Linked DNA regions of Homo sapiens: regions 1, 2 and 3 are each linked to region 4. Evidence: promoter capture Hi-C in 16 types of primary human blood cells and fetal thymus (Javierre and others, 2016). All regions are on one chromosome and are shown on one strand. The core of a region is centred on a gene start or on the middle of the fragment in contact, and the rest is flanking DNA. Distances in the headings are between cores, read along the strand shown. Region 1 overlaps CENPE (centromere protein E). Region 2 holds the start of SLC9B1 (solute carrier family 9 member B1). Region 3 holds the start of SLC9B2 (solute carrier family 9 member B2). Region 4 holds the start of DNAJB14 (DnaJ heat shock protein family (Hsp40) member B14).

What was found. Contacts are between HindIII fragments. The CHiCAGO score rates a contact against its expected background, and 5 or more counts as called.
Region 1: a contact is called between a fragment that was not itself captured here and the fragment with the promoter of DNAJB14 in region 4, in 1 of 17 cell types (fetal thymus). The highest score is 6.4, in fetal thymus.
Region 2: a contact is called between the fragment with the promoter of SLC9B1 here and the fragment with the promoter of DNAJB14 in region 4, in 4 of 17 cell types (non-activated CD4 T cells, fetal thymus, activated CD4 T cells and 1 more). The highest score is 7.2, in non-activated CD4 T cells.
Region 3: a contact is called between a fragment that was not itself captured here and the fragment with the promoter of DNAJB14 in region 4, in 1 of 17 cell types (total CD8 T cells). The highest score is 5.2, in total CD8 T cells.

Annotation. Positions count from the first base shown.
Region 1 is chr4:103,100,674-103,107,523 of GRCh38, forward strand. It overlaps CENPE (centromere protein E), which reads right to left. Exons shown (of 49, transcript NM_001813.3): 49 at 5,138-5,643. The coding sequence ends at 5,549. Among named protein-coding and RNA genes, the nearest start is that of BDH2, 4.3 kb to the left of the region's middle. The HindIII fragment of the contact is 4,331 bases long and covers 1,691-6,021 here.
Region 2 is chr4:103,015,767-103,022,078 of GRCh38, forward strand. SLC9B1 (solute carrier family 9 member B1) reads right to left here and starts at 3,939. Exons shown (of 12, transcript NM_139173.4): 1 at 3,833-3,939. It also overlaps a transcript of SLC9B2 not described here. RefSeq lists an enhancer at 3,780-4,280. The HindIII fragment of the contact is 6,332 bases long and covers 1-4,574 here.
Region 3 is chr4:103,074,249-103,080,414 of GRCh38, forward strand. It overlaps SLC9B2 (solute carrier family 9 member B2), which reads right to left and starts at 2,513. Exons shown (of 12, transcript NM_178833.7): 1 at 1,936-2,513. It overlaps BDH2 (3-hydroxybutyrate dehydrogenase 2), which reads right to left. Exons shown (of 10, transcript NM_020139.4): 10 at 3,344-5,507. The coding sequence ends at 5,454. RefSeq lists a silencer at 2,173-2,282 and an enhancer at 2,393-2,512. The HindIII fragment of the contact is 645 bases long and covers 2,467-3,111 here.
Region 4 is chr4:99,943,125-99,950,104 of GRCh38, forward strand. It overlaps DNAJB14 (DnaJ heat shock protein family (Hsp40) member B14), which reads right to left and starts at 3,494. Exons shown (of 8, transcript NM_001031723.4): 1 at 3,315-3,494. The coding sequence starts at 3,447. H2AZ1 (H2A.Z variant histone 1) reads right to left here. Exons shown (of 5, transcript NM_002106.4): 2 at 6,539-6,616; 3 at 6,149-6,262; 4 at 5,687-5,816; 5 at 4,964-5,399. The coding sequence ends at 5,338. RefSeq lists enhancers at 2,878-2,927, 5,805-6,410, 5,892-5,941 and silencers at 3,098-3,757, 6,562-6,651, 6,732-6,781. The HindIII fragment of the contact is 11,087 bases long and covers 1-6,980 here.

The DNA of each region.
Region 1 (6,850 bases), core at 2,606-5,105, 3.2 Mb after region 4:
TGCTGCTAGGGGTGGCCAAGCAGCATAGATGTTGCCAATGAAATGCAGGTGGGAATTTCTGAGGAGGGCCTCCTTCTTAAATAGAAAAGTAAGCCCTTCTGAAAGGCTTTTAGCTTTTGCTCCTCCCTTTCTTTTTGCCTGGAATGAAGATAGGATGCCGTGGGACAGAGCAGCCATTTAGTGAGTTCATCTGAGGCCAGAGGCACACATTAACGACAGGGACCAGCAAGAGAAGGAGCCTGCGGCCCTGATGACAGCCTCAAGGCAACAACTCCTCTGGACTTCTTATGTGAGGACAATAAACTTTAGTGTTTTTCACGTTTTTTGTTACATGGAGCTAAGTGATTTCTAACAGTCACAGGGGATAAGAACAAAGACTGTGGCGTCAGTAAGACTAGAGCAAGTCCCATATCTCTCTCTCACTAGCTAAGTGAGTAAATCACTTAAATCTCTGAACCTCTTATGTTTCTCATCTGTAAAATGAAGGTAAAATAGCACCTACCTCAGGGATGTGGTGAGGAGGAACGACTAAGCCTGTGAATCCATCAGCACAATGTTTGCCACACAGGTGCTTAATACATGTTAGTGATTCTTATGATGAAGACATTGTTGGAGAAATTTAATTATAATGGATGGTAAAAGTTGCGCTTTTTAATGTTCTTTTAAAAACTGGACTTAGTTTCTGCATGTGTCTATATGAGGTCTATGGTAAAATTGTCCCTCCTTGTTCATTGTTTCAGCAACTTCTAATGCTGGCTCTAACAATCTGTAATCACATCTAGCTTTGTTCCTGCTTTACTAATAATGCCCTTTGACTTTTGAGGCTTTTGGAACAGACTTTATGAGAGTTCTCTAATCAAAGCCAACTCCAATGCTTCTTGATGTAGCTTTCTTCAGCATCCCTCTGTAATCTTCAGCAACAATGCTTACTTGATAACAGCCTAAGTCACATGGTATTGCAAATACTTGCTTACCCATTAGTATTCTCAGCAGACTAAATTTCTTCAAGGGTGGGGACTATGTTTTACACCTTTACATTGTGATTAGCTCGTATTAAAAGAGTATTAGTTACTTGTTTTCTTATCTACAATATGAGTTCCACATTGGTAGTGCCTTTCAGTGCCTAAAACAGTAATTGGCAGATAGTAGATGCTCATTAAATATTTGCTGAGTGAATGGCAGTTTCTTAATAAGTTTCCTGAATATAATTCTGCCAGGCTCTCAAGACAATGTTTGTGATAATTAATTTTAGGTGTCAACTTGACTGGATTTACGGATCCCCAGAGAGCTGGTAAGCATTATTTCTGGGACATCTCTGAGTGTTTCTGGAAGAGATCGGCATTGGAATCAGTGAACTGGGTAAGGATCTACTTCACCCAATGTGGGCAGGCACTATCCAATTGGCTGAGGGCCCAGATAAAACAAAAAGGCAGAGAAAAGGTGAATTCTCTCTCTTCCGGAACTGGGACATCCATCTTCTCCTGCCCTTGGATACCTGAACTCCGACCAGATTCTCAGGCCTTCAGACTTGGACTGAGCCACGCTCCTAGTTTCCCTGGCTCTCCAGCTTGCAGACAGCCTATGGTGGGACTTCTCAGCCTCCCTAATTGTGTAAACCAATTCCCCTAATAAACATCCTCTCTCTCTCTCTCTGCATATATATATATATATATTTTTTTTTTTTTCCTCAAGCTTCAGTGGGGTTACATCCCAATAAGCCCATTGTAAATTGAAAACATTGTCAGTTGAAAATGTATTTAATATACCTAATTCACTGAACATAGAGCTTAGCCGAGCCTACTTAAATGTGCTCAGAACACTTGTTAGCCTACAGTTGGATAAAATCATTTAATACAAAGCCTGTTTTATAACAAGGTGTTGACTGACTCATGGGATTTATTGAACAGAGTACACTGAACAGTGTCAGTTGTTTACTCGTGATCCCGTGGCTGACTGAGAGCTGTGTCTTGCCGCCACTGCCCATGATCACAGTAGAGTATTGCTATCTTATGAAGAGATCAGAATTCAAAGTAAAGTTTTCACTGAATGCGTATCGCTCTCACACCATCCCTAAAGTTGAAAAATCTCAAGTTGAACCATGACAAGTTGGTGACCATCTGTGTATATTCTATTGGTTCTGTCTCTCTGGAAAATCCTAAGACAGATTTTGGTAACAGGAGAGGTTCTAGAGGAACAAAATTTTAAGGATGAGTTTCCTGAGTTGGTTTTGGGGTTCCTGGAATTGGCTCTTAGTCTGATTAGATTTGAAAATGCTAAAGGCTCTACTCTTTGAGATGGGGTCACACTCTTGAACAGGTTGGAGTGCAGTGGCACCATCATAGCTGACTGTAGCCTTGAATACCTGGGCTCAGGCCATCCTCCTGCCTCAGCCCTCCAAATTGTTTTTTTTTGGTAGAGATGAGGTCTCAGTATGTAGCCTAGGCTGGTCTCAAACTCCTGGTCTCAAGTGCTCCTCCTGCCTCAGTTTCCCAAAGTGTTGAGATTACAGGGATGAGTCACTGCGCCCAGCCTGGCTCTCCTTTTAATAGTACAGAGAGCACTGATTGTCCAAGAAATGAACTGTTCATAGAGGTATGCAAAATGTCTGCATTGGATACTCCTAATCAACCACTTCTTAGAGGTGAGGAACTTAAGTGACTCTATATATAATACTTTTTTTTTTTTTTCCGAGACAGAGTCTTGCTCTGTCGCCCAGGCTGGAGTGCAGTGGCATGATCTCGGCTCACTGCAACCTCTGCCTCCTGGGTTCAAGCGATTCTTCTGCCTCAGCCTCTCGAATAGCTGGGATTACAGGCACACACCACCATGCCTGGCTAATTTTTGTATTCTAGTAGAGACGGGGTTTCACCATGTTGGCCACGCTGGTCTCAAACTCTTGACCTTGTGATCCGCCTGCCTCAGCCTCCCTAAGTGCTGGGATTACAGGTGTGAGCCACTGTGCCCGGCCCTATAATACTTTCAAATATTTATGGAAAACTAAGAAATATACCAATGTTGGTTGGTTGCTTCTAATATTGTTGGGCAAAATTATTTAAAAAAAAAAAGGATGACTTCAGGGATTCAAATTCATGGCTCAAGCTCCACATAAGTAACCTAAGAGCTTATAGGCGTGCCCTGAAAGAGGATCTTCTCTCCTGTAGACATGAGGCTAAAATTGCTGAAAATCAAACACCAGTCTTCATCATTTGATTGGTGCAATTACAAAAGGCCTCAGTGTGTCTACTGGTAAAATAAGCCACAGTGACTGGGAGAGTGAGATTCTATAAGTTGGGATGGGGACGTGTGGGAAGACCCTGAAGCCAGGAACATTGAGTTTTTTTTTTTTTTTTTTTTTTTCAGTTTCACCCTGTTGGCCAGGTTGGAGTGCAATGGCATGATCTCGGCTCACTACAACGTTGACTTCCAGGGCTCAAGTGATCCTCCCACCTCAGCACCCCCGAGTAGCTGAGACTATGGCCATAAGCCACCATGCCAGGCTAATTTTTGTATTTTTTGTAGAGACGGGGTTTCACTATGTTGCCCAGGCTGGTCACGAACTGCTAGGCTCAAGAGTCCCACACCTCAGCCTCCCAAAGTGCTGGGATTACAGGTGTGAGCCACCATGCCTGGCCAGTTCCTACATTCTGATGAGTTTTTTTTTTTACCAGCTGTAGTGGCCTCTCCAACCTCATTGGGGTTGGTAATGGCCTTTCCACCTTTGTCTGAAGGGTTAACCCTGCATTGCCTGAGGAAATAATAATGGCCTCCCCTGAGGCAGCTGCCAAGCAAGACAATGCTGATTCTCCTCAGGACCTACCCCCACCACCCCTCTATGCTCCTAGACCTATAACTAGACTCAAGTCCCAGCAGATCCCTAATGTGAGGTACAAAGTGTGGCCCATGAGGAGCTGCATCACAATCAAAAGAACCACTTGAGTTTTCTAACTTATATAAGCAGAAATCTGAGAAAAATGTGTGGGGATATTAAGGGTGTGGGATAATGGTGGCAGCAAAAGGGACAGAGCTTATTTGAAGAAATAATGGCCACAAACTTCCCAAATTTGAGGAATAAAATGGACACCCAAATTCAAAAGTTAAGCAATATTCTACTAGGCTGGCTACCTGACAACTAGATTTTTAATGGCTTTAATGTAGTTTTATCAATCAGGTAAACAACCACTACTTTGGGTTACTTTTGTTCAGTGGAGAAGCAGACATAAAGAATCAAACCTGCAGGCATGTTAGTGTTTTGTTTGGATAAGGGTGGAAAGCAGAAGACAGACTCTCAAGGTACAGGTCTGGGGGAAAAGATTTTAGGAAGGGATAGTTTCCCCTTAGTCTTTGTTAATTCCTTTGGTGGTATGTTAAGATACGGAGAAATATCCAATCCACAGACTTTGAAATACTAGATATGATGCAATCAATAATCTCTCCCTTTGAATGAATCTTACCAAAGAGCCGAGAATGACTTGAAATCACTTTACCTCTGTTCTATAACCTAATGCAACTTGTTTTAAGTGGTTTTTCAAAGTCATATGGTATAAAAGTAATATCAAATATCCTCTAAAACCATAGTTCTTAGATTTTTACAGGATCACGGGCCCCTCTAAGAATATGATAAAACAAAGTATAAACCCCAGTATCCCCTCCCCCCAAATAAATCCACACAAAAAAGTTCATAAAAAATTTCAAAAATTTTACAGATTACAAGAAGTCCATCCATATATGCTTTATCTATCTGTGGGGACTCCAGGTTTAGAAAACTTTACTTTGATAAAAACTCTGGTACTGTTTCCTTATGTCTACAATGAAGAGGTAGAATAAATGATCTATAGGTTCCTCCAGGCTGGGAGTGAGGGGCAATGAAAAACAAAGTCTATAATAAACCAACCAATTTAGAGAGTTTGTATAGGGATTGGGATAGGTAGGTTACCAGAAATGTGAGAAAGAACTTCTGTGGTTATTACAGTAAAAGGAATATTAGAACTGGAAAGTTAAGAGGACATAGCCTCTGCTATCCTTTAAGAATTTAAATCCAGATCCAGAAAACTTGTGTATATTTTCATAGCAAAATACTGAGTCAACAAGAGAGACTACCTCACCAAGAAACCATTAACATTATATAGAAGAGCGGTGATTCAGAACTACTAAACATTTATTGAATGTGTAAGGTATTAAAAACATTTACAATTTTGTTAATAAAATGATGTTTTATATTAATGTATGTATTATGCTTTGGAATATGCTAAGTCATGTAGATAACTTTACATTTCTTTCAATAACTTTATTCTTTACAAAATATACAAATAAATAAAACAATTCAACTTTTAAAAGTATTACCATATGCAAGAAGAAGGTATTGCTATCACCATTCTAAATTACCACAATGCATTCATTTCCTGTTCCCTTATCTTTCAACTCTAGTGGCAAAGTAAAGACTGAATTGAAATTAAGCTGCACTACAACATCATTACCAGGGATAGACACATAAACAAAGTCATTTCCAAATAAGGAATGCTGGATCTCCAGAGAAGTGACAAAGAGGAGTCTACTGAGTTTTGCACTCAGGCACATCCTTGCCTGAGGAGGCGTGCCAAGGACCTGGCTGAGAATCCACACTCTCTGCTCCTGCATTTTGCACCTCTGAGAAAGAAAATGAAAACAACATTCATCCTATTACAAAAATACACAAAAACCAAGCACAGCTGGAAGTGGAAAGGAGGTTAAGACAGGAGAGATGTGAAGAATGAAAAATGGCAACGTGATTCACCGTGTTTGGTCATGAAGATGGTGTATTTCACCTCAGAGTTGGAGAAGTTTACTCCCCATTTTGTCCTAAAATGAACTATTAGACAAACCATAGTTAAACTGAGAGGTAATAAAGTTTTATTTGGAATTCTTCAATTTGAAATTCAAAGTGAATCAAACACGGGCTGATTGAGTTTTCTTTTGTCCTGTTTTTCAAAATAAATGGTGTGCTAAACAAATAGTATTTTAGAGAATATTTAATCATCTTTGGAAAGCTTTCTGTGAGCCTTTAAAAAGGACTTTAGCTGCATCTATTTGCTTATAAACAATATTTATTTTACAATTATTATATTTATAAAAGTAAATCTACCATAACTGGTCTTGGCAATTACCTTAGTTTAAGGTAATTTAGATTACCTTTTATAATTAAAAGTAAAAACTCACATTTATTTTTTTAAAGACTGGTATTAATTCAAGCTGGGACTATCTCATTTAATTCTGAATTGGTCAGTTTTTGATTTATGTATTCTTCTAGGCTACTCTTTTATTTATCTAAAAACAGTACCAGAGAGATCCACATATTAAAAAAGGACTCAAACATTTTTATTTGCAGTTTGATGAATTCACATTATGCATATGCCTCTGGCACTAGCAGACAAAATCAAAAGGTGATTACAGCTGGGTGTGGTAGCTAGCATGCACCTGTAGTCCTTGATGCTTAGGAGGATTGCTTGAGCCTAGGAGTTCAAGGCCAGTTTGGGCAACATAGTGAGAGAGTTCCATGCAAGTGTTAGCTAGCCAATAGAAGGTCCTTAAATGTTTGTTAAATACTATTTAATGAAGAGAATATTTCAAACATGTTTTTATTCCAAATGTTTCTGTGCCTACCTATCTCCCTAAGAACACTTTTAGACTGTCAACTTGATCTAATTTTGATGTAGTTGATGAGAATGGATAGATTTTTTCTTAATCACAAAGTAGAGGTTTATAAACTCTGGCAAATAGTGCTCAAGGTTTTAAATGATTTGGCAACTGCCTTTCTTACTGTACAATTTTGTTGCTTTAGATTTCTACAGTTGCATAACAGGGTACCTCTGGTAGG
Region 2 (6,312 bases), core at 2,689-5,188, 3.1 Mb after region 4:
CTGACCACTGAATCTACCCATCTATCTGCATCTCTACCCATACTTGCTGTCTTTCTTCTTACCAGAAATTATACGTTCATGTGGTTGGGTGCGGTGGCTCACACCTGTAATCCCAGCACTGTGGGAGGCCGAGGCAGGTGAATCACCTGAGGTCAGGAGTTCAAGACCAGCCTGGCCATGGTAAAACCCTATCTCTACCAAAAATACAAAAAATTAGCCAGGCATGGTGTGTTGGTGTGCGCCTGTAATCCCAGCTACTCAGGAAGCTGAGGCAGGAGAATCGCTTGAACCCGGGAGGCAGAGGTTGCAGTGAGCTGAGATTGCTCCATTGCACTGTAGCCTGGACAACAAGAGCCAAACTCTGTCTCAAAAAAAAAAAAAAAAAAAGGAAAGTATATGTTTATATGTTCATGTTCCTACCTAAGGCCAATACTTCTATATATTCCCTGGATTCCATACCCTCTCATTTTCTCAAAGACTTCACTCCTAAAATATACACACTCTCTCTTATACCATCATTTCCACCCCCCTCTATTGGATTATTCTCAGTCTAAATATGCTTAAGTGTCCTTATCTTTAAGAACCCTTCTTTGACCATACATATTTCTCTATTACCTCCATTTCTTGGCTCTCTTTCATAGTAAAACATCTTGAGATGTCTATAGTACTACGTCAATTTCTGCCCAGCCAGCAGTACTATGTCAATTTCTTGACACCACATTTTCTCTTTATTGTACTAGTCAAGGCATATAACTACTTAATGTTTCCAAAACCCAATGCACAGATCTCTTTATTTTATTTGACTTCTAAGCATGATTCAGTACTGTTGGCCATGTTTTGTAGTCTTGGCTTTTTTTTTTTTTTTTTTTAATTGAGATGGGGTTTCTCCATGTTGGTCAGGCTGGTCTGGAACTCCCGTCCTCAGGTGATCCACCCACCTTAGCCTCCCAAAGTACTGGGATTACAGGCATGAGCCACCATGCCCGGCCAGTCTCGGCTTTTATGTCACTGCACTCTTCAGATTTTCTTCCTACTTCATTGGCTATTCTTCCATCTCTTTTGTTGGCTTCTTTTCCTCTGCTTTACACTAGTCACTGCAATGTTATCGGTGAGCACACTTGCCCTAGGTAGTTTTCCATATGCTGGTGACTCCCAACTTTGCATCTTTGGTTCCTTGCACTCTGCACAGAGCTGAAGCCTCAAATTACCTTTGATTTCTAATAAGAATGTAAAAATTAAGGTAAGCAAAATAAAACTCCCCCCTCCCACCGCCCTGGCTGCTCCTTTTTCTTCCTTAGTCTTTTCCATTTGGTAAATGGCACAATCATCCACACAAGCTCAAGACAAAAATTTAGGGGCTAGAGGTGACTCCTTTTTCATCACCTCTATATTCAAAACATCACAAAATCTGTAGGCTCTGCCCCCAAAATAGAGCTCACATACATCTACTTCTCTGCTATTTTATCCCAAACTTGTCATTCCTCTTTGGATTTCTGCAATTATCTTCTGCTATAGATCTTGCTCCCCACCCAGTATGATTCAGTCATCACATAATAGGCAGAACAAACCTTTTTACAATGTAAATCAGATCCTATCACTCCCTCCAACTCACTACTGGTTTCTCTTTACACTTTAAATAAATTCCAAACTTATTCCATGGGTAGATTTCCATGGCCTATTCAAAGCCTTACATGATTTGGCCCCTACCTATCCCTCCAAGCTCATCCTGTACCACTTTCTCTACATTTTAGCTTCAGTGGTCTTGATGATGTTCCTGGAAGGAGCCAAGTTCTTTCCTTCCTTAGGGCTCTTGCAATTGGAGTTGCCTTTACCTGTAGTGCGCTGATCCCAAATATTTCCATGGTTGGTTTTTAAAAATATCACTAAGCAATCAATCTAAACTAACCCCTCCCCCAGTCTTAAGGAAGACCTTTACAGTTTTACTTCTTCACTGTGCTTACTATTATCCAAAATTCCTTGCTCATATAGTTTACCTATTTTCTATCTTACACTCACTAGAATTTAAACTTCATAAGAACAGCGATCTTGCTAGTCTTTCTTACCATTGTATTCACAATGCCTAAAACAACGCCTGACAAAGTAGGATATTCTTTAAAAAATACTTAATGAATGCCTTTCCCTAAGCAAGTCACTTGACTTCTCTACTTAACTCACACTGGTGAGTTTACTACTGCTAGACTAAGCTCTGGATCCAGGAAAAACAAAAGTGGCTAAGGTATGGCTTCTTCAGAAGCTCATCCATTCATTCCCTCAAAAAATATTTATTGAACATATATTACACTATGTTCCAGGTACTATTCAATCTCAGTGTTTAGTAAACACCACAGTAACATGGGATTTGGTTAACCAACAGAAGTGTTTAAACAGGATGAGTACAAAAATAAGTACAAAATGAGAAGTACTATAAAAACGATACTTTATATGTTACAACTATAGCACCCACCTATTTCCTTGTGTCTAGTAATTGGCAGGACCTTATGACAAGAGCCAACTGAAAAACAGCAGTATAAATTCTGGTACTCTAAAAGCCCAGACTTCACCACTGTGCAATATATCCACACAACAAAACTGAACTTGTACTAACTAAATCTGTATAGAATTTTAAAAAGTAAGTTAAAAAAAATTCTGGTACTCACAGGGGACAATACCTATGAATGCCCTTTTCATAGGCACACAGTGACTAAAATATTTGGGGCATGAATTCTCTAGGGGTGACAATAATAAGTGTCATTTTTCATGCTTCTGTTGCACACATAATTATATTTATCTCTAAGGAAAATCAGAGAGTGGGGTGTGGCCTCCCTCAGTGCCACCTGGGCCAGTTGTCTCCCCACATCACCAAATCTGTTATTTCACAGGCTCTAGGACACCCATAGAGGGGGAGTGAGGGACCTGGTATGGTCCCGTGAAGAGCTCTTGTAACACTACTGATTGATGTGACAGACACAGTATGTGTGCAACTTTCCTTTTTCCTTCAAAAGCACTGGTCTAAAGCAGGGATCCCCAACCCCTGGGCAGCAGACAGGTACAGGTTTGTGGCCTATTAGGAACAGGCCACACAGCAGGTGAGCAGGGCTAGAGGATTATGCCTGAGCTCCAGCTCCTGTCAGATGAGCAAAGGCATTAGATTCTCATAGGAGCACAGACCTGATTATGAACTGCGCATGTGAGGGATCTAAATTGCGCCTTCTCAAGAGAATCTAATGCCTGATGATCTGAGATAGAAGAGTGTCATCCCATCTTGCCCCCCACCCCAAACTGTCTTCCATGAAACTGATCCCTGGTGCCAAAAAGGTTGGGGACTGCTGGAAGTGCTTGTCCCCTGGGTTAAAGCCAAGAGGAGTAAACAGGATTAAGGGGCGTGGATGTGGGTGGGTGGGGGAAGAGAGCTTTCTCAGGATCGGCAACCAATCCCAGAATCTCCAGTCGCAGGAGCATGTATGTGAAGGTTTATTTGCAGGGATCCACCGTTTGTAAAATAGTACACGCTTAATAAAATTAATTTTGAGGTCAATCTTAACTGACAGATCTCTTCTTTCTTACTGGCGAGTATTTGTAAAATAAGAAAAACAGGAGGAAAAGAGAACAAACAAGAGAGATGTGGGATGACGGAGTAAGGAAAGGAGTCACGGAGAGGAGAGACAATGTCTGTGGCTGTTCCCTCAGCGTCTGGGAGAAGAGCCCAAGAATCCCATTGAACTGAGGGGGAGGAAAGGCCCTCCTGCGGCCTACCGCAAGGAAACGATCGCGGCAGACCCGGGACTAGCGCCAAAGGGCTTGGAAGGGCGGCGTTAAGAAAAATGGGCCGTACCTACAACTTCTTTCGCAGCCCTCGCTGGCCCGGGAGCGGCCCAGGAGCCCAGTGACCGTTGCGTAAGCCACGCGCCACCCAGGTGGGCAGGGTGGTGACGCGAAAGCCCGGATAGACTTCCGCGCAGGGGCGGGGCGGGGCGAGGAGGCGGCAGCGCGTTTAAGTGACGTCTTGGCTGTCCGCGCCGGCAGAGGCGAGGGTTCTGGGGTTTCTGGGACTGTCTGGTGTGTTTTCTGTCTATTGAACCCTTTCCTTTCGACGTCTCTTCTGAATATTGACTCATCGGGTTGTAGAAATCCAGGGACAGAGTTGACATCACTGGGCATTTTAGCCAAAAAGCAGTGCTCGGGACTGCATGTGCCAGAAGTAAACTTGTCAAAACTCAGATTGTGTTTCCCCTAAAGTCAGCTTAAAGTGCAATGGTAGAAGAGCACGGTCTCTCCCCAAGACGGCCTGAGCTTAAACTGCAGCGCTGTCACTTGCTAGCTATGGGACCTAGGCAAATACATCGTCTCCCTGAGGTTGTCTTCTCATCTGTAAAGGACGCTGTGGTGGTGGTGTGAGAATAAATGAGACATGGCAAGTGTCTGGAACAAAGACGCTGTGTACAAAGTAAACACTTAATATACTGTTATCAGTATAAAACCTTTGTGAGTTTTTTTTTTTTTTCCGCATGAAATCTTATGTGGAAAGTTGTATGTGAAAGAAATGAAAGCGGAGCTGCGTTGATGGTGGGCCCAGAAGCTTTGGCCTTTCAGTCCCAAAGTTTCCAGTAATAGAATCCGCGCTTCCTATAAAAGACAAAAACAACTGTTATTGGAGAAAGTGTAAACTTCTTAGAAAGACAAACTGCCCTTTCCTATCTAATGTTTCTCCTGACACTCAATGTTTACTCTTGAACACTGTATTCCTTTTTGCCTCAGTGCGTTCTGTAAAGTTAATTCCTCTACCGGAGTGTTCTTTTTCTTAGTCATCATCTAAGATCTGATCCAAATTACCGTTCCTTCTTGGGTAACTTAAATACGAAATTATCTTTTTATTGGTTTTGTTGACGTTGTTGAGACAGGGTCTCACTCTATTACCCCGGCTGGAGTGCAGTGCGATCTAGGCTCCCTGCAGCCTCCTCCTCCTTGGTTCAAGCGATCCTCCTGCCTCCTGAGTAGCTGGGACTACAGGTGGGCACCACTACCCCCGGCTAATTTTTGTATTTTTAGTAGAGAGGAGTTTCACATATTGCCCAGGAGGACTTGAACTCCTGGACTTAAGTGATCTGCCCGTCTTGGCTTCCCACAGTACTGGGATTACAAGCGTGAGCCACCACAGCCCTGCCCTTTTTATTGTTTTTAACACCTTCCCTCCTTCAACGTGTTATAGACATCTCAGCAAGGATTTATTTTTCTTCCTCGTTTCAGGAGAGTAGACAGGGTTTCATGATTATAGGGTTAAGGAAATGTTTTGTACTCATGAAAAGGAAATGTTTTGTACTCACAGGAAAAGCAGGTAGATCCCTAAAGATAATGGGAGTTGGGACAAATGGTAAACCTGGGAAGGAAGACCTTTGCTAGGAGTCTGTTTGCCTCCAAGGCACTACTCTTATGCTCTAGAAGGAATGGGCTCCTGGAGAGGTAAGTGCTTTAGGGTCCATGTAAGGAAGATGGAGCGCACATCAACAAATGGAGTTTTGGAATTCTCACCAGGCCAGAGGGCTCAGGCTGGATTTGAGTCAGTCAACTATAAATATAATATTACGTACTCCCCAAATGCCATGAAGCAATTCCCACTTGTTACAGAGAGGTACATAAATGATTCATATAAAAATATAATGTTCTGAGACATTAAAAAAATACAGTGGTTCTTTGGGAGACAATATAATGAAAATTTACTAATAAAAAACATTTAAACAATCATCTGATAACCTTTCTTATAAAAATTAAGTTTTAAAAATAAGTAAATTGATTATATTTGCAACAAAGTCATGGAAAGCAAAAGCTTTTGAGGAATAAGGAGAATCTTAACTGAGAGCAATTTTTTAAAACTATACATGACATGATAAAAAAAGTTTTAACACTTTCTACATAGTTTCATACTTCTGAAAGTACTTCAATAAAAATATTTAGCCAATGATCTATTTAGTATGATTTCAGTGCCAACTTTCTTTTCTAGTCTTATCTCTAATTCTCTTCATCAATCTCAAGTGCCAATCACTTTCTATGCTCCAGGCTTTACTGTTTTCAAAACTTTGCTAATATGCCAGCCTCCCACACTAGTTGTTCCCATCTTCACCTTACTCCCTAATATTACCCCATCCATCCAGATCCTCTCCATTCTTGAAGGTCTAGTTCAAGTATCAGTTCCTCTAAGATTTCCTCAACTTCTACACTAAAAACACTTTTGAATTATTCACTTGGATTATAGCTATTTGTACATATCTTATTTCCTTCTAAGGTTCTTAAAGGCAAGTATCATGTCTTATTCATATT
Region 3 (6,166 bases), core at 1,539-4,038, 3.1 Mb after region 4:
TTACTGAGCTACTGAACAAACCCTGGACCCACCTACCTTCAAACATCTTCATGTATGAGCAAAGTACATCTGTATTTTTGAAGGGAGTTTTGGCTGAATATCCTGTTACTTGCAGCCAAAAGCATCCTAACCAATATAACAGGTGATTTTGTTGCAGAACCATCCCTGAGAAGCCCTGATGAACAGCAGTGATGAGGAACCTCTGTCTTACAAACTTTAGTTTCTATCTTTCTAGCTTCTTGTTACAGTGCAAAATCATCATAGACAATGAATGATCAGAACACTGCCTTTGTATTGAAATTTCTCAAAAATGTCCAGAAAATAACATTTTATAAAGTTAAAAATTAGTGCCAAGGTTTTCACTGCCATTCTTTTAGTCAACAGAAATTATTTGGATTGTAAGATTATGTATTTCCCCTCCTCTACCCTGAAGTTAAATTGTAATATTTGAATACTGAATGAAGAAAAGTTGGACTTATAAACGTTTGGTTGTTTTCCAAATTTCCACTCATGAAACAAAACAACAACAATAAAATATCACTACTATTGCTGCCTGGAGTTTCATTTCTGCTTTTTCTACTTGAAGAAATTCAAAATCTAACTCAAATGTCACCTTCTCAGTATTTCCTAACTCCAACATTGACAAACTGTCTCCCTCGTTTTCCTCTCTGATGATTCATTCATTCATTCAACAAACAAGAGCTATTAAGCTCTTGTTACGTCCCAGTCCTTGAGCTGAGGATTCAGAAGTGAACGGTCTTAAATAGTTCCTATATTCAGATCTTGTAATCTAGTTACAGGATGATAAAGGATGATAAATGATTCCTAAGCAATCACAATGAAATATGGTTAAGTTTCAACTTTAGACACATAACAACCCCATCCCTTAACAAGTTTCATTTCCTTTTTTTTCTTTTCTGAGATGGAGTCTTGCTCTGTCACCTAGGCTGGAGTGCAGTGGCACAATCTTGGCTCACTGCAACCTGTGCCTCCTGGGTTCAAGCGATTCTTCAGCCTCAGCCTCCGGAATAGCTGGAATTACGGGCGTGCACCACCATGCCCAGCTAATTTTTATATTTTTAGTAGAGATGGGGTTTTACCATGTTGGCTAGGCTGGTCTCGAACTCCTGACCTCAGGTGATATGCCCACCTCGGCCTCACAAAGCCTTAACAAGTTTCTCTGGTGTGATAGGCACAAGAGTAACAAAGATGACTAAGATGCAGTCTGCCCTTTAAGGGATGGTCAGAGACTGATATGTGTTTACCAAAATCGTTTACTCTTCTGCCTGGGTCCATAGTACATTTCCAGTCTCCCTTGCAGGTCAGTGTGGCATGTGACTGAAGTCTGGTCAATGGCATGTGGACATAAATAGTATGTGATTTCCAGTCCTCACCCATAAGAAACAATCCTCATGCAATCCTCTAGTAGCTTTTCTTTTTCTGTCCGTTGCCTGGAAACTAAGGACTCCAAGGTCTTAGGGGATAGCAAAGCCATAATATAAAAGGAGTTTGGGTTCCTGAATAATTGAGTAGAAGGCCAACAGCTGAACACGTGAATGGACTTGACATGAACGAGAAATAAGCCTGAACTATGTTTAGTTACTGAGATGTTTTACTTTATCTCTTACAGCAGCTACTGCTGTCTTAAGGTTATATTCTTCAGTCAATAGCATACGATGATTCTTAGCACCTCGAGGATGCTAACCCAGTCCACAAAGGCAACACCCCCTCTGGTTAATCTGAGAACTAAAATAAAAGCAAGCAAGAAAACCCACGCCAACACCTTACAACAGTAAACAGACACGCGCCCGTCACCGGGTGTACAAACAGAAAAGGCTGGGCCCCTCGCTCGCGTCTCCGGTCCAGCAGGCCTACAGGGTACCCGCCGCTGGCGCTGGGTTTATTTTTACCCTTAGTGTCTCTGGGGCCTCTCACCTGGCAGTCTCCGGCGAAGTCGACCAGGCTCCGTCTGAACGATTAGGAAAGGGGCTGTGGGGGAGGCGGCGGAGCCCGGTCTAGCCACCGCGCTCTGGGGTTCCCGATTCGCGCATCTTCCCAGGCTGAGCCGGGAGGCTGCGTTGACTGCAGATAAACGGTCTCAGGGCGCGGCACCGCGTGTAGTCGGCCCCGCCTTTCGCACGAACCCGCTGGGCGACACCGCGCAGGGAGGTCCGACCCGTCGGCGCCGGTACAGGCTCCGGAGTAAGCATGGGTTGGTCCGGGGCCCGCAGCGGCAGCCCCGTGTGCCCTCCGCCGGGTTTCAGGTCCGGCGGCGCGGGTGCAGAGCCGCGTGCGATGCCTGGTGCGCGTGGCTTCCCCCGGAAAGGTGGCGCCAGGCCGACCATGGGCCCACGTCCCGGGGCCTCGGAGCGGCACCGCGCGGTCTTTCAGCTGCTTATCCTCCCTGGGCGGGTCCGCAGGCTTCTGGGGCCAGGACCAGCGAGCTCCCGGGAAAGCTTCCCGGAAAGCTTACCCAGAGAGCGCGGACCCAGGCGCCGAGTCTTCCCGGAGATGACGAGACACCGCGAGAGGAGCACAGCGCAGGCTCCTCGGGACTCCGCGGCGCAGGCCGGGCAGCCCGTTACTTGTTTTATCGTTCCCGAAACCAACCTCTAAGTTGTCTATCAGTCCTCCACCTTTTAGCTGTACCTCTTAGAAGTGTCTTCTCAGCTGCGGTGGGAAGATAGGATTCTTTCTTAAGGTGACCAATTAAATGGCCGGATAAAAGACTTGTTCTGCCCCCCTTTATCGCTTAACACCTGCCCTTCTTGTTGTATTTTAGATTTTTAACCCTTCTATCAGCAGTGTGATTCTATTTCATTTAATTCTCATTTCATGTTTGTGTCTTCCTTTTCTCTGTATTTCCTCTTGTGTGTGTTAAGACGCGCGCACCCCTTACCTGTTTTTCACTCCTGTAAGCAAGTGCCAATCTTAATCACCGCTTTTCAAGCAAGGGAGATTATCCTCAAATTTCTCCACCAGTCAGAAACCATTCATTCTTGTCTCTCAGGTCCTCTTTTGTGATGAACCTATTGGATAGGTTCCATCCAATACCCTTCTTCAGATCATCTGAAATGATTATTTTCCTAAACGGAACTCTTCCTCTCCTAAAGCTTGTAAAAATTTCTAGTGACATTCAGCTTCCTCTTACCACAGGAATGACATATATTTTTCCTTTTAGTCATATGTACTTCATTAATATATCACCTGATTTGATTAACATGACTTTGGAGAACATTGAATTTTTTGGCTAGATTTTACTTCGTTTTTATTGCTGATAGTGTTTATAAAAATGTTTTATAGTTTATGGTCGGCTGTGAGAAAGACTAACTCAGATCATTTGTTAATGTTGGAGCCCATTTTGTAGAATTCGTTGTGCATTTATTTAAAATTTATTTGTTCATAGCTATACATATATTATACATGTATACCTGCTCACAGCATAAAGTATTTCATGACATACTTGTAAGAGTCAGTGTTCTATGAATTCACTAGAGAAGTTACAGCATTTTGATTATGATACACGAAAAGAAACCCAAGTCATTTAGCTTAACTCCTTAATTTCATAAACCAGAAAACTAAAATCCAAGATAGATTGGGTGACTTGGTCTAGATCACAAACCAAAGTTAGCCATAATTCGGTAGTGTAGTGCCCGGTCCAAAACCTCATAGATAATCTTATAATCAATGGACTCTTTCTGAATGCTAGTCAAAATGTCCTTTTGTGTGAATTTTAATGTACCGTCATCAACTGCATGATATTCTTCCCCATACACAAAGTGTTATCTTTTTGTTGTCCATTTCAGAATTTTCCATGTTAATATTAAAGTTCTAGGAAAAAAGGCTAAGAATCACTGCACATTTATTGAGTATCTCAGTGTGCATCATACCATTTGGTCATTTGAGGTTGCAACAAGTAAAAAACAAACATAAAACCCTTAAATTAAAATAAAAACAAAAAACTTTGCCCTGACAATGTTACAGAATTAACATCCATAAATTTACTTTTCTTGAAAAATTTATTTTCTTTAATTTCGTTTGTTTCCTGTTACATAATTTATATTTAAATTTACATTTATTTATCCAGAAACTATGTCCAAATTTTATGTCCTCTTTTCTGTTATCCTGGAGTTTGGTGAAGAAATCTGTACTTAATTTAGAAAAGAAATCCCTCTAACTGACAATATTGTTAGCTAACTATATATTTCTTAGGCCCATGTCAAATATCATTGCTTATTTTAATAAAGATTGTTTAGTTAGACTAAGAAAATAGTAAATAATAAGGGATGGCATCCGTTAAGTATAAACACTGGATTATTTTTCATAACATAACAGGTCAACAATATCGTTTTGAGGCTGAACTCCTTTACTCCTTTTACTGTAAGCTATTGAAGCCAAACTCCTTCCTACCTTTGTTCATTTATGATGGTGTAAAATTTTAAAATTAGGATCTACATACAGAACAATGCAGAATTATATAAAAATATTTGAATATTGAAAAATGAAGTGGAAATTATTATTATTATTTAGGTACAGGGTCTTGCTCTGTCACCCTGGAGTGCAGTGGCATGATTACAGCTCACTGCAGCCTCAAACTCTTGGGCTCAAGTAATCCTCCTGCCTTAGCCTCTGTTAACCATGCTGGTCCTGAACTCCTGGCCGCAAGTGATCCTCCTGCCTTGGCCTCCCAAAGTGCAGGAATTATAGGCATGAGCTACCATGCCTAGTCCTGAAATTACTATCTTCTTCCTTAACCCCCATCTCCCCCACAAAAAAACAAAAACTTCCTTTTTTCTTCATATTTACATTTTAATTGTATATGCTGCAATGGCCTATTTGTATCACCCCAGAGTCATGTGTTGACATCCTAACCTGCAATATGATACATTAGGAGGTGGGGCCTTTGGGAGGTAATCAGGTCATAAGGGTAGTGCCCTCATGAACAGGATTAGTGTCCTTATAAAAAGACACATGAGCGCTCGCTTTTTTTCTCTGCTCTTGCTATGTGAGGATACAGCAAGAAGAGGACCATCTGCAAACCAGGAAGTGGGCCCTAACCAGAAACTATATCTGCTGGCACCTTTATCTTGCACTTCCTAGCCTCCAGACTGAAAAATAAATGTTTGTTGTCTATGACACTCCATCTATGGTAATTTGTTATAGCAGCCCAAAGTGACTAAGACAGATGCTAACAAATCGAGATTTATTTTAAAAACTATTCTCCTGCTATGAGTTCAATATTTTTATTTCTTTACAATGATTTCAGAAGAGATTACAAAGAGATTAATATACTTAAAGAATCAGACTCTTGCAAACAGTGACATCATTAAAAAGAGCTTATTTTCATTAACATGTGATTAACAGGAAGGAGATGATTGGTGAGTTTTCTTCGTAACCAGGTTCACTGTGGATAGGAAGGGCCTGCCTTCCTTCCCACCATGGAGATCCTAAAATCACAAGCTCCAGCCTCCATCAATGATGACAGGGTTACCAGTTACATAAGCAGACTGCAGTGATAAACACAAGGAGACAGAACAATTAACCAGGTTTGATACAGGCTGTATTTTGAAATTTTCCTGTGACTAGGATAACTAAACAATTTACCCTTGTCCTAACAGGAAACCTCACTTAAACACTTAATTCAGGGAAATCCAAATTAACATTTGGTTGATTTAGAACTGCTGAGTGTCCTGTGATCTGGAACTAAATGGCCTCTGGCTGGTGTCTAAGCACCTGTCACTGTTAGGTATTTGGTCTCAGAATCCCCAAATTAAGGAACAGTGATGTATAGCCATTCCCCAAATTAGGATATAGGCTAAAAGCACATTTTCATTTTGAAACTCAGAACTATTCAAAACTAGCTAAGTTTTATGCCACTAATAAACTTTTGAACATAAGTGTATCAGTCATAAAATGGTCATATTAATGACCAGTTTTTTAAAAAAGACAGCATATATTTAGTTGATCAATTATAAGTGGATAATTGTAGGAGCTGAAGCACACTAAATGTGTTTTAAAAATTTACATGAATGATAATAACTATAATCCATTAAGCTATAAAAATATTCTATATTAGTTTCAGATATCCAAATCTTTATAAAACTAAGGAATTTAAAAAATAATTACTGGTTTATTCCCATAAATTTTTCATTTTCTAAATAAGGCT
Region 4 (6,980 bases), core at 2,244-4,743:
TCAGCTCACATAAATCCTGTGATGACATCTTCACTTTACATATAACTAAAGAAGGCTCAGAGGAGTTAAGTAATTTGTCACTGGTGAAAAAGGAGTCAGAGAAAACATCTGCATCTGAACTAAGGTTTTTGGACTACACAGTTATCCCCTATCACTTTATTTGGTAATCACATACTGCCTTACATTTGTACTACCAACTTTCACCCTTACATTTCTTAATTTTTCCAACATTCATGTCCTTAAGAGCAACAAACTGTGTTGTGCTTTGGTATCTTATAATATCTTTTAGGAGATTTATTCAAATTGTTTGCATGACAGAAGCATGATAGTGTGTACATTTGGGTGGGTTTTAAGAATTCTCAGAGCTTCACACTTGTAAAATGGGGATGACACCAAAATTAATTGAGTGCTTACTGTTAAATGCTTTACCTGTATTAACCCATTTAATCCTCACAACAGCACTATGAGATCAGTACATTGTCTCCATTTTACAGACGAAAAAGCTAAAGGCTAGAGAGGTTCTCTACCCTGCTCAAAAATAAGGTTACAAGCTAGTAGGTGGAGTCAGACTTCAAAAGCCAAGTTATTCTGTCTAGACTGCCTACTCACTTAATGTTAAAACTGTCCCTCTAGGACTAGATAATGACTAAATGAAATCATATTCAACAGTAGGGGAGGATTCAAAAATAATTAACTCCTGGCAATGATTTCTTGAATATGACAGCAAAAGCACAAAAAAACAAAGCAAAAATAGAAAAATGGCACTACAACAAACTTAAAAACTTATGTGCATCAAATAGCACCATCAACAAAGTGATGAAAAGGCAACATATAAATAGGAGAAAACATCTGCAAATCACATATCTGATAAGGGGTTAATATCCAGAATAAATAAGGAACTCCTACAACTCAACAAAAAAAAAACAAGTAATGTGATTTAAAAATGGGCAAAGGACTTGAACAGACATTTTCTCCAAAAATGGGATATTATAAAACTAGCCAATAAGCATATGAAAAGATGCTCAACATCACTAATCATCAGAGAAATGCAAATCAAAGCCACAATGAGATATCACCTCCCACTCAAGGATGGGTACTATCAAAACCAACAAAAACAGAAAATAGGTGTTGGCAAGGATGGTGAGAAACTGAAACCCTATGTACTGTTCGTGGGAAAGTAAAATGGTGCAGGCGCTACAGAAACTGTATTGTGGTTCCTCAAAAATTAAAAATAGAATTACTGTATGATCCTACAATCCCACTTCTTGGTATCCAAAATAATTGAAAGCAGGCTCTTTGCATATCCTTGTTCATAGCAGCATTATTCATAATAGCCAAGAGGTGAAAGGAACCCAAATGTCCATAGACAGATGAATGGATTAACAAAATGTGGTGTATATATACAATGGAATATTATTCAGTTTTTTTACTGTAGCTTTTTTTTGGTCTTTTTTTTTTTGTTTTTTTGAGATGGAGTCTCGCTGTGTCGCCCAGGCTGGAGTGCAGTGTTGCCATCTCGACTCACTGTAACCTCCATCTCCCGAGTTCAAGCGATTCTCCTGCCTCAGCATCCCCTAGTAGCTGGGATTACAGGCATGCACCACCACGCCTGGCTAATTTTTTTGTATTTTTAGTAGAGATGGCGTTTCATCATGTTGGCCAGGCTGGTCTCGAACTCCTCACCTCAAATGATCCGCCCGCCTCGGCCTCCCAAAGTGCTGGGATAACAGGCGTGAGCCACCGCGCCCAGCCTAATCAGTATTTTTTTAAAGAGGAATTCTTCACGTTACAACATAAATGAAACTTGGGAACATTATGCTAAGTGAAGTAAGACAGTCACAAAAAGATACTGCATGAATCTACCTATCTGAGGTAACTAAAGTAGTTAAATTCACAGAAACACAAAGTAGAATGGTAGTTGCCAGGGTCTTAGGAGACGGGGCGGTAGGGAGCTGTCTGATTAGTACACAGTTGTGTTGTAAGATGAAAAAGTTCTGAAGAGTCCTTGCACAACAATGTCAATATACTTCACTAATGGACTGCACACTTAAAAATAGTTAAGACCGTAAATTTGGCAGGTTTTTAAACCACAACTTAAAAAATTATTAACTCTTTTCTTTCATTTTATTTTCCTGTCCTCATGGGTATAGTGTTAGAAGGCAATGTAATGGAAAGGATAGAGAGAAAAGCAAAGAGCACAGGGCTTCAACGACGTAGAGAAAAAAATTTAAGAGACAACAAAACAAGTGGCCCCATATTTTCATTAATAATTTTCTACAATTAATTGAATCTATCGATAACTTTCTTCTTAACCTGGAAATACTAATGGCAAGGCAACAGTGTAGCGGTTAAAGGCCTTTTCGAGTCTGAAAGTTCAGCTACTATTCTGACTTTGCTACTAATTGTTGTGTGACCTTGGGTAAGATACTTTCATTCATTCGCTAATTCATTCATTAATTATCAGAAAGTCTGTTTCCACGTGGGTAAACCTGGTCAAATGAATCCTGCACCTCTACACAGAATTGTTCTGAGGAATAAATGAAATAATCCATGCAAAATGTTGGGCACAACTATTGGCACTTTGTGCTCAATAAATGTTGGCTATTATTACTCCGAAGCCTATCGAGTAGGAAAATAAATAAGCTGACTTCAACTAAAGGAAACCCAGTACCATATTCCTCAGAGATTTGGTTCGTCGATAATCATGGTGTTATCAAATCAGATACTCTTCAGCAATCATTACTGACTCTTGACCATTCTTGCCGAAAGTGTGCTCTTCTCTTTTAAAGGAACTCTCTCCCAGGGAAAAGCAATGTCATCTCAGGTATTCGATGTTTGCTTTGGGAACAGTTTTCTACAGATCTCAGAAACATGGAATCTGAGATTAGCCACTAGAGTACACCATTCCTCTCACTTCGATAGGGGCCTAGGCCTTATGTAGGACTGAGAATGGGGAGGGAGGGGGCCACATAAACAACACAGATACAAATAAAGCCTCACTGTGGTAAGACGGGACCAGACAAGTCTCCTCCAGGGAGAATGAAACCCGGACATTTAGGACAGCGGAACGCGGAGCCGGCGGGCAGGCGGGTGCAGAGGAACCTCGCGCAGCATTCCCCGAGCCCCAGCCCGGAGCCGGGGCTGGGGCCAGGGCGGGGGTGTGTCGGGATGCTCCCCACCGGGCCTGGGGCTGGGGCTGGCTCAGACAGGCCGGGGGCCCCGCAGGCCTCCAGGAGGGGCCGAGGTGGGGGCAGGGGCGGGCTACGCGGTGGTCTGGGGATTGGGCAGGAAGAGAAGGGACGCTGAGGTCTCACCGCGGGCCGAGGGCAGTGGGTAGAGCTTCTCGGCCTTCTGCAGGAAGCGCTGGGCCTTCTCGCGGTTGCCGGCGTTCAGGGCCTCCCGGGCGATCTCGACACATTTCTCAGCCTCATCCCTGTTCCCCTCCATAGCTTGCTCCTTCTTCCGTTTCCTCCGGCAGCGCAGCTAAGAAGGGCGGAAGCCGCCGCCGCGGAGGAGGCGAGGCGGGACCGGCTGGGGGCGTGCGGCGGCAGCGGGGAGGAGCGCAGGGGACCGCGGCAGCGGCTGCGACGGCCCGGGCGGACGGGCGGGCCTCGCAGCTCCGCCTCCTCACGGCGGCCTCCCCGCCCCCCGCGGGCCCCTAGGGCGCGATCCGCATCCGTCCCGGCCCAGGACCAACCTCCTGGGCCGGGGCGTCCGAGCTGACTCGGTGGTCCGCGCACGGCGCCAGCAGGCTCGAAGCGGACCTGCCCGGGAGGCGGACGATAGCAGCCGGGCTGCCCATCGCGGGGAGGGGTTCCGCCCGGGACCCGATTGCCGGCATTGGTAGCGCCGTGCCCTGTGACCTCCAGGCGAGGCCCTCGCAGCTCAGGCCAGGAGGACAGGGTCCGGGAAGGGGACACTCGTTTTCAGTAAAATTGCCAGGACTTGGAGGTTCCGCCTCTGGGCCCCTCAAGCGAGGGAGGATGCGGTCAGGTGAGGACCAAGGTGTCAGTCCAGTCTCAGCACTTCCGGGACACGTTAGAGCGTCGTTTGAACCTAATCTTAGGGCTTGTATGGCAGCCTTATTTCAGCTACATTTTTTCTGACCCGGATGTCTGGCTATCCAAAGTACAAAGCAGTTTAATTTGTAGCTTGCAACGAGTGGTGCAGATCGACCTTAATCCTGTGTAGCCAAAACAAGGCAGGAATCAGCCCCTCAGGGGCTGCCCTAACGAAAGCAAACTTTTGATTTCACCTTTTCCGTCCCATTTGGATAACATTACCACTTGGAAGTACCGTGTCTTGTTAGTCTTCGCGGTGGGGGTGGGGGGAATGTTTGCTATGTGCAAATTTTTTAAAAAAAAACATGACAAACTGTCAAAATGACCTGCTCAACCCAACCACAAGGTAACAATTTTTACATAATGCTGTGAGCCAAGCTGTTAATTCTGCTAACTACCATAACTCGGTACTTTCAAATAAGAAACCCTGCTTCTCTTCGATAAAATGGAGATAGTATATCCCCAATGATGTTACTGAGTACTTAACAACTTCAGACTTCAAAGCAGGGCCTGGCACGTAGCACTATTATCTTTAAAGTTTAAATTCGGAGTTCATTCTGTGGATATACAGGACATTCCTACCTATTCTCTCCCTCCCCAAGTCCACCATGCTAACAGCATACTAGTGCAGTGCTGTCACACAGCAAGCGAAGCCAATGTACAAACTGAAATGGTCACACTTAGCCTAAGAAACTGACAATCCCACTCCAGCTCCTGCCAACTTTTTAAATTAAAACTTTAGTAGCTCATATAACATTAAAAAAATATACTTGGGCTATCTCACTTTGTTGATCTACAGATTTGACAGTTCAGTCACAAAGAAATGTGCTTAGTTATTGCTGCTAGATGAGATACTCAAAACAAGTTCCTATTACAACCAAGCAAATTTAATACACAACTAGTTTGGGATATGACCTTTATTGAACTTATCCACCAGAGTGGAAATAATGTCTGTACAAAACCAAATGTTTGTTACTATAACTTCTGCATCACAATTAAAATCCAAACAGTTTTTTAAAAACAGTCAACTCAATCAAAACCCACTACTTCAGAATCAATAGCTTCTTTGAAGCCACAGTAACACTTAAATATGGTTAAGACTCGAATGCAGAAATTTGGTTGGTTGGAAAGCTAATTAAACTTCCAACTTGCTCAAATAGAATTACAAAAAGGCAAAATTGTGTTTTTCACAGAGATACAGTCCACTGGAATCACCAACACTGGACAGCTGTTAGAGTATTTAGAGTCCTGAGATAACAAGGAATCCAGGCATCCTTTAGACAGTCTTCTGTTGTCCTTTCTTCCCAATCAGAGATTTGTGGATGTGTGGAATGACACCTAGGAGAGTGACAGGAATTAATTCTACTTAAGATTTTTTAAAAAATCACAGTATTTGAAACCAAGAAAGTGTATACTGTTCAACTTGAAAGGTATCTTTAAAAACATGCAGCTCAAGTATGAAGTAAAAATTCATTGAGTTATACATATAAATCAAATTTCATGATACAACCATACTTCCATCATTGAAAATATACTTAAATTTCCTCTCCTGGAAAAACTAATTAAAAGCAGCAAAAAATTCCTTCCTCTGAAGAAATTTTTTAAAATGTTAGAAGTTAACATACCACCACCAGCAATTGTAGCCTTGATGAGAGAATCCAATTCTTCATCTCCACGAATAGCAAGTTGCAAGTGACGAGGGGTAATACGCTTTACCTTTAAGTCTTTTGATGCATTTCCTGCCAGTTCAAGTACCTAAAAGGCAGAATCTGTCAGTTGCCTTCCAACTTTCCTTTGGCCAAGATTCAGAGAACAGAATAAAACCCTCACAAACGCAGATCTACCAACTGGAATCGTTCCTCACTATCTGACTGGCAAGATATACAGGGGGCACGCAATTTTAATTCCAAGAGCAGAGAACTCAAGCTCAGTAGGATCCTTGTTGAACACCAGCTCCCTCTAGCGTTCTCTTAGGCCTCTCGCCGCGTTCAGGGCCTGGGAGTTTTCTTGCATCACTTTCCTCCTTCCCTCTTGCCGCCTCCCCGCCCCCCAAACCTTCTCCGGATTATAGGCGTTCACCCATTTACCTCTGCGGTGAGGTACTCCAGGATGGCTGCGCTGTACACAGCGGCAGTCGCGCCCACACGTCCATGACTGGTCGTCCTAGATTTTAGGTGTCGATGAATACGGCCCACTGGGAACTTAAATTTTAAGCATACACAAACATAAATGCACAAAAATGAGAACTAGAGATGGGGAAATTATATGCGCGCCAAAGCAAGGGGCACGGGCGCAGCAACGCGTCCCGACATCGAAACACGTGATTCCTCCCCCCCATATTTATCGTATGGGCAGCCCAAGTCGCGACACCGCATCACCCACGCATACACAAAACGCCCATCGAGAGCGATGAATAACAAAAAAGGAAATGCAAAGAAAAACATCATGACTCCCAGACTGCACGAACAACTACTGACCTGCAAGCCGGCTCTCTGCGAGCGGGAAACCGCCTTTGTCTTGGCCTTTCCGGAGTCCTTTCCAGCCTTACCGCCAGCCTGCGGCGCGCACACGCCCGCGAGCGGAGGAGGAACGGAGAATATAGAATTACCAAGGCGGCGCGCCCATCCCCCACCGCGGCGCGTCCCGCCGCGAGCGCGTCCCCGCACCCTGCCGGGGTCTCCGGCCCGCGGCGCGCCGCAGGGGCGACCCCGCCCGTTCGCCCCCCGCCGCGCGCTCGCCACGGCCGCGCGCCTCCGCCCGCCGGCCCCCAGCGGCGCTGCGCGCGCCACCCAACCGTCGCCGCCCGCCGCGAGATCCGAGGCTGCTCCGCTAGCAGCCGACAAAACACCTCCCCCCACTCTTCTAAATCCTGTCTCCGCGCGTTCCCAACCGTCGCCACTTCACCCCCATCCCTCTGTG